Linked DNA regions of Homo sapiens: region 1 is linked to region 2. Evidence: promoter capture Hi-C in human tissues and cell types (Jung and others, 2019). All regions are on one chromosome and are shown on one strand. Each heading gives the region's core, a stretch centred on a gene start or on the middle of the fragment in contact. The rest is flanking DNA. Distances are from core to core; before and after follow the strand shown. Region 1 has its middle 110 kb from the start of SKAP2. Region 2 holds the start of HOXA4 (homeobox A4).

The links. Contacts are between HindIII fragments. The study calls those that stand out against the background at their distance.
Region 1: a contact is called between a fragment that was not itself captured here and the fragment with the promoter of HOXA4 in region 2, in 1 of the 25 tissues and cell types used here (spleen).

Annotation. Positions count from the first base shown.
Region 1 is chr7:26,972,773-26,976,529 of GRCh38, forward strand. No RefSeq gene overlaps it. Among named protein-coding and RNA genes, the nearest start is that of SKAP2, 110 kb to the left of the region's middle. The HindIII fragment of the contact is 3,561 bases long and covers 343-3,757 here.
Region 2 is chr7:27,129,426-27,132,873 of GRCh38, forward strand. It overlaps HOXA4 (homeobox A4), which reads right to left and starts at 1,332. Exons shown (of 2, transcript NM_002141.5): 1 at 693-1,332; 2 at 1-146. The coding sequence starts at 1,308. The region is part of intron 2 of HOXA3 (homeobox A3); the gene reads right to left. RefSeq lists a silencer at 1,490-1,559. The HindIII fragment of the contact is 3,192 bases long and covers 1-3,069 here.

The DNA of each region.
Region 1 (3,757 bases), core at 873-3,372, 160 kb before region 2:
GATTCTATTTTCCCCATATCTTCCAGGCACACCAATCAGTAGTAGATTTGGTCTCTTTATATAATCCCATATTTCTCAGAGGTTTTGTTCATTCCTCTTCATTCTTTTTTATCTATTCTTGTCGGCCTGTCTTATTTCAGAAAGACACTCTTCAAGCTCTGAGATTCTTTCCTACGCTTGATCTATTTTGCTATTATAACTTGTGATTGCATTATGAAGTTCTTGTACTGTATTTTTCAGCTCTATCAGTTTGGTTGTGTTCTTCTCTATACTAGCTATTTTGTCTGTCAGCTCCTGCAATGTTTTACCATGGCCTTTAGCTTCCTTGCATTGGGTTACAACATGCTCCTTTAGCTCAAGGAAATTTACTTTTATCCACATTCTGAATTCCACTTCTGCCATTTCAGCCATCTCAGCCTCAGTCCAGTTCCAGACTCTTGCTGGAGATGTGATGTTGTCATCTGGAGGAAAGACAGCACTCTGGCTTTTTGAGTTTTCAGTATTCTTGCACTGATTTTTTTTCTCATCTTTGTGGACTTATCTACCTTCAATCTTTGAGGCTGCTGACCTTTGGATTAGGTGTTTGTTTTTTCTTTTACCAGTCTAGCCCCTTTTCTGTAGGAATGCTGCAGTTTTCTGGGGGTCTGCTCCAGGCCCTGCTTGCCTCAGATTTTCTAGTACCTGGAAGTATCACCAGTGAAGGCTGCAAAACAGCAAAGATGGCAGCCTGCCCCTTCTCCTGGAAGCTCCCTCCCAGGGAGGTATGGACTTGTTGCTGGCCCAAACGCACCTGTAGTGGGTGACTAGAGACCCCAGTTGGGAGGTCTCACCCAGTCAGGAGAAATGGGATTAGAGACCTGCTTTTAGAAGCAGTCTGGCCACATTGTTGTAGAGCAGCTGTGCCATGCTAGGGTATCACTTCCACCTGGTCAGCTTGGGCTCTCCAAAGCCCACAGGCTGGAACAGCTGAATTGCACAAATTCCCCAAAGAGCAACAATGGTGGCCCATTTCATCCCAGGTAGGTGTGACACTGTTTCTGGTGGTTGGCTGGAATTCCAAGCCATTGTGTCTTATCCTGTGAGATGCCACAGAAATGGGGCCCACAGACCATTGCTGCTCAGCCCTCTGGATTCAGCCCCCCTTCCTAGGAGTGTGGATAAAGGTCTAACCTCCTGCCTTGCCAGGAAGCCTGGAGCCAGAGTATGTAAAGCTCCTGGGCTTCCATGCATGCCTGAGCAGCTGCTCTGTCAAGACTCCATGCAGCCCTGTGTATCAGACTGAAGGCCCTGGTGGAGTGTGGTCACGAGGGAGTCTCCTGACCCAAGGGTTGCAAGGGTCCATGGGAGAAACATGGTTTCCTGGGGTTGCACCTTCACTCACTGCTTTCCTGGGTGGGGGACATTCCCGTGGCTCCATGTTGCTCTTGGGTGGGTCATCATCCTATCATGCTTTTCTTCATTCTCCATAGCTTATTTCCTTGATTAGTCCCAACATGCGTACCTGGATGCTTCAGTTGAAGATGCTATATTAACTCACCTTTTTCAATGCTTCAGTTGAAGGTGCTGTATTAACCACCTGTCCATGAGAGCCACAGACCGTAGCTGCTTCTAGTCAGCCATCTTGGCCCCACCTCTACAATGACATTTTCATTTTATAACCTTTGGAGGTTTCATAACTAGGGAAAGCGTGCTGGTACTGATAATTAGTAACCTTTTACAGTACTTAGTAAAAACATTTTAATGTCTTTTATTTATTTTCTTTTTTTTTTTTTTAACGGAGTCTCGCTCTGTCACCCAGGCTGGAAGTGCAGTGGTGCGATCTTGGCTCACTGCAGCTCCACCTCCCAGGTTCACACCATTCTCCTGCCTCAGCCTCCCGAGTAGCTGGGACTACAGGCGCCCACCACCACGCCCAGCTAATATTTGGTATTTTTGGTAGAGATGGGGTTTCACCATATTAGCCAGGATAGCCTTGATCTCCTGACCTCGTGATCCACCCGCTTCAGCCTCCCAAAGTGCTGGGATTACAGGCGTGAGCCACTGCGCCCGGTCCTTTTATTTATTTTCTACGTTGCATATTCACTGTATGGCCTGGGAGAAAAGACGGCTGGTTTTTAAAATTCTCAGATTGGTAATTTGTTCCTCCTTCTAAGTCTTTGCCTTTGGTTTAAAAGAAAACATACCCTTTACTTTGTCTAAGTTAAGGTATAATTTCACTGTATCCATCAGTAAGTAGTACTTAATCTAATATAGAACTTGAATTAAGTCATAGAGTGAGGCTTTTTTGCTTTAAGAAAAAAATCTTACTGCTTTTTCAAAACAACCCAGCTTGTTTCTTGTTACTATAATAATCCATACTTATAATTACTCATCTAACCTAAAGGAAGACAAGAGAATCTGGTGTTTTGTATGTAAGATCTATAAAACCTACAGTCAATTAATTTCACCCTGTAATAATTGTAGATAATCTGAAAACATGAAGTAATTTATTTATAATCCAAAAGGATCATGTAGGTTACCATGTTTATGTGATCAAATTTTAGTTGTTATAAATAGATCATCTACAAATAAATCTTTAAAAATAATTATCAAGTTTTTTTCTCTGCCTTTCACTTTGTGTTACTTCATACAGAATAAAATCTGTATAGCTATAATCTGGCATTGATTGAATTGCCTCATTGTGTCTACAGGCATTCCCCCAAATATACCACAAATATACCACATGCTCTTCCATATCATATTCCCCCAAATATACCACATGCTCTTCCATATCATATTCCCCACTTTCTGGGCACTTTCCCTAAAAGACAGATCTTGGAACATGTTAGTTTTTCTGCCTAGAATGCCTTCCCTATTGTTTTTTAGCAAAGTCCCATGGATACCTTAAGTCTTACCTTTAATGCTACCACTACAGTAAAGCTTTCCCTATCTCCACCAAGCAAAGTGACCACACGTTTTGCACTTTGCTCAGTAGGATTTATCTGAGTTTATCTGTGTTTATCTGAGTTTATTGTGTTAATTCATCTGAGTTTACTGTTTATCTGTTTATTAGATCCTGAGTTTCTTGATGGCAGATACTGTGTTTTCTTCATATTCATGTTTCCAGAAACTAATTATAGCACTTACCTCAAACAAGTGCTCACTAAATATTTATGGAATTAATGGATTTATTTTCATGGTTCCCTCTCGTCATCCAAAACAGGACGCCATATAACTGTCCCAGATCACTCATGTCTACACAGGAAGCATAAACCAATTGATGGCTACAGACAGAGGGTATAAAATGACCCAGAAGGCCAAACAGACCCAAACAGACTCTATTGGGAAGTCTGTCTCGGCCAGTGAACAGGAAGTTCACAAAAATAACTGTTTCTTTCAAAACGCAACATTTCTCCGTCACACAAAGGGTCTCAGTTAGTTGACAGCCTTTAAAACATAAGTTCTTTATTCCAAATTATATAATTGGCATGGAAAGAAAAATGACCTTGGAATATTAATCTTAAAAATGTAAGTTTTCTTTTGTTTAAAAAGAAAATAGGCTGGGGGTGGTGGCTCACGTCTGTAATCCCAGCATTTTGGGAGGCTGAGGTGGGCAAATCACCTGAGCTCAGGAGTTCGAGACCAACCTGGGCAATAGGGGCAAAAACCCATCTCTACTAAAAATACAAAAAATTAGCCAGGCATGGTGGTATATGCCTGTAATCCTAGCTACTCAGGAGGCTGAGGGAGGAGAATCGCTTGAACCTGGGAGGCAGAG
Region 2 (3,448 bases), core at 82-2,581:
CAAACAGAGCGTGTGGGCGATCTCGATGCGGCGCCGCCGGGTCAGGTATCGATTGAAGTGGAACTCCTTCTCCAGCTCCAAGACCTGCTGCCGGGTGTAGGCGGTTCGAGAGCGCTTAGGCTCCCCTCCGTTATAACTGGGGTTAACTGAAAACCCAGAACCCCGAAATAGAAGGCCAAGGAGGAGGGAGCGGAAGAGAGGGAAAGGAGGAGGAGAGAGAAGGTGGGGTGGGGAAGAGCAATTGGACATCATCATTATATAATAACCTGACACCAAGTTCACGCAAGATACATAAAACGGCAAAGAAAATGTTTCACAGGCTATTGACAACGGGAAACACCCGAGAGCCATAAAGAATGGTGCTGGGCATTGGGGCTGAAGAAAAGCTTCAAAGACACATGGCCTGAAGCCTCTGCCAGGGCAATTAAATTTATGGGGGCTATAATTACTGCCCTAACAGTTTGGCGTCTCGTAAATCTCCTGATAAAGGGACCCTGGGTACAAAAGGGTTCTCATGTTGGGATCAGGCGGCTGGCTGGCGCGCACATACCCACATCTCACCGCAGCCCGGGTCAGATGGGGGCTCCCCTCCCGAGGCCCCCTTCCCCTGAGCCTCTCCCTCCTGACCCCGACCCTCGAACCCAGGCCCAGCCCCGGCCCACCTCCCGCGCCTCCCAAGCGGCGCCACGTACCGGCGCTGACATGGATCTTCTTCATCCAGGGGTACACCACGGGCTCCTTGCCCTTCAGGCCCAGCGGGCTCTTGTCGGCCAAGAGCAGCGGGCACGCGGGGGCGCTGCCCCCTGCCGGGACGCCTGGGGTGGCGGGGGCCGCCTCGCAGCGCCGCGGGGCCGCTGGGGGCACGGCGCGAGGCTGCAGGGGCGGCGGCAGCTGGGGCTGCAGGACGTGGCTCGCATGCAGGCCGTGCGCTGGGCCCTTGGCTTGCGCCGGGGGCTGCTCGGGCTGGGGCGGCCGCCCGGGGCTGGCGCCGCCGCGGTAGCCATAGGGGTAGGCGGTGTCCGCGGCCCCATGCGCGGGGTACAGCGCGGCAGCAGGGTAGGCGGGCTCGCGGGCGGTCCGCGGCGCGTAGTAGGAGGCAGTGGGCTCTCGGCCGCCGCCCGCGTGAGGGAGCTGGGGCTGCTGCAGCGGCAGGTGCTGGGTCGGGGGCGCTGGGGGCTGCTGGTAGCCGGGGCCCCCGCCCGGGCCGCCGTCTGCGCCGCCCGAGCCGCTGTGCTGCGCGTACTCCTCGAAGGGAGGGAACTTGGGCTCGATGTAGTTGGAGTTTATCAAAAACGAGCTCATGGTCATTAATTTGTGAAGTGCAAAAATACTAATTTTTCTCGCGTTGTCGTTTTTTCTGGGCTTGCCGAGGCCCCTCCCCCTCCTGCCTCGCTTCCCATCCCCCTTTCCTCTGCGCCCTTCCCCTCCCCCCGCTGTCAAGTGCCCACTCCTCCCCCTCCCGCAGACGCCGCCACCAAAGTTCGAGCCGCTCCTCCCCAGCCCAGCGCGCGCCCCGCCCCGTGCCCCACGTGCAGCGCCCCCACCAATGGGCGCACCGCGCGCGCGGACCCGGATCAGGAAACGCGCGGGTGCGTGATGGATGCTGCTGTCCGGCCCCTGGGCTGGGGGAGGGAGCAGGAGCTTTGGACCCCAGCCCCCCAGCTTTGGTTCCCGCTGGGAATTCAGGCCCTGTCAGGCTGTAGGTCCTCTCGGGAGCCCTCTGCCTGCCCTACTGCTGGCCTAGGCCTCGGGCTGTCTGGCGGCCGCGACTCAGCGCTGACCTCGGGCGCAACCCAGTCAGGCTTCGTGTCCTTCAGGGGTTCTAGGCTAACAGGCGAAAGGAAGGGCGTTGGGACCGAGGGGCATCCTGGTTTTTATGTACGCCACTGAGAGGCCACCAGACACATTTTCTCAACCGCAGATCCCCCTTCCCCACACCCTGCTCCTTGCGTGTCAGCCTGAGAGCCCTTGCTTTGAGAAGCTTGGCAGAAGCTGCAAAGGGTGGGCGGGCAGCTAAGAGAAATCGACCCAAGGATGTAAATCGAGGCCATTCCATTATAACTGGATGGACACTTTTCATTTTTTCCTTCTTTCAGAGACAATCTGTTTCGTGTTTTCCTAAGAAAAATTGGAACCTTCGTAATAGCATCTAATTTGACGGGGGTTGTCGATGTGAGAGCTAAATATGCCCGCATTTACTAGGTGCGATTGTGAGAGAGAAGGTGGCCCAAGGATGGGAATGGATAGAAGCAACACCTCCACAGAACCGAGCTTTGAAAACAATAACTTCCTATTTCAGAACTATCCCCAAACAAAAACAAGCTAAGGGTAGAATAAACACCTTGCCGGGTCTGATCGCTGATGGGTCTTTTCCAGCTAAGAATTTCATGTTTTCTCTTTTAGATCCTGCTTTCTCAGGCAGTATCTGAGGCTAGAGTTATATTTGCAGGACAGTCTATAATTTCTGAATTGCTGAAAATTAGCGTATTAACGATATCAGAAGCTCCGGAAAGGAGGGAGAGGAGACTGTTGCCTGCTATTTGGTAATTGAAATTTGATGGGTACACTAATTACGCCATTATTAACAAATAAATTACTTATTAATTCCACCTAATGTTGATCTTTGAAGTAAATACTGATGCCTTATTTGTGCTGTGTGCTTTCTCCCTTTCTTTTCTGAGTAGTAGACATATCTAGATCCTCTACTTTTCAGCCTAAATTAAAGCAGTGTAAACTAGCATAGTCACCATTCTAAAAATATTTTCATATTGGCATGCAAAAGCAAGGATTTTTCAGCTGGTGCACCTTAGTTGATTTTTCAAAGAGCAGTATAAACAGCCTTCTCACAACTGAGTCTGGAACGCAGACAAGGAAAATTATTTCCTAAGCCTGGAGACACTTGAAAAGGAATGTCAATTCTATCTTCATTCATACTGGTTACTCATATGAGTTACTAAATGCTGGAATATATCCATTTGATGGATAGTCACTTAATGCTTAGCCACATAAAGCCTATTATATGGGACTAATCTTTAAACTAATTTAGGAAAAGAGGTTAAAAAGGGGATCATATTAGCTTTCTAACTGGAATCACCCTGAAGAGGTACAAAGAGATTTTCCACGTTAGGTGTATATGAGTGTGAAGAGTGCTGTCCATTCACATGAGGCACCCTGAAAATTTGTTTTTAAAGAAATTTGAGCCACAGACAGAAATCAACACTGAGTGTAATCTTTAGCCATCCTCTCTAGACTGGAGGAAAAATTTAGAATGTGATACATCTACCTGAACCAATATCTCTCCCTAGCAAGAAAAAATAATATACACATAGGTTATATAAAATGTAATATAAATAATATATAGACATACGTATTACAAATCTGAACCCTATAAGTTTCAGGGGGACAAAAAGCATGACAAGGAAATCTTCCCTCCTTCTCATGTCATCAG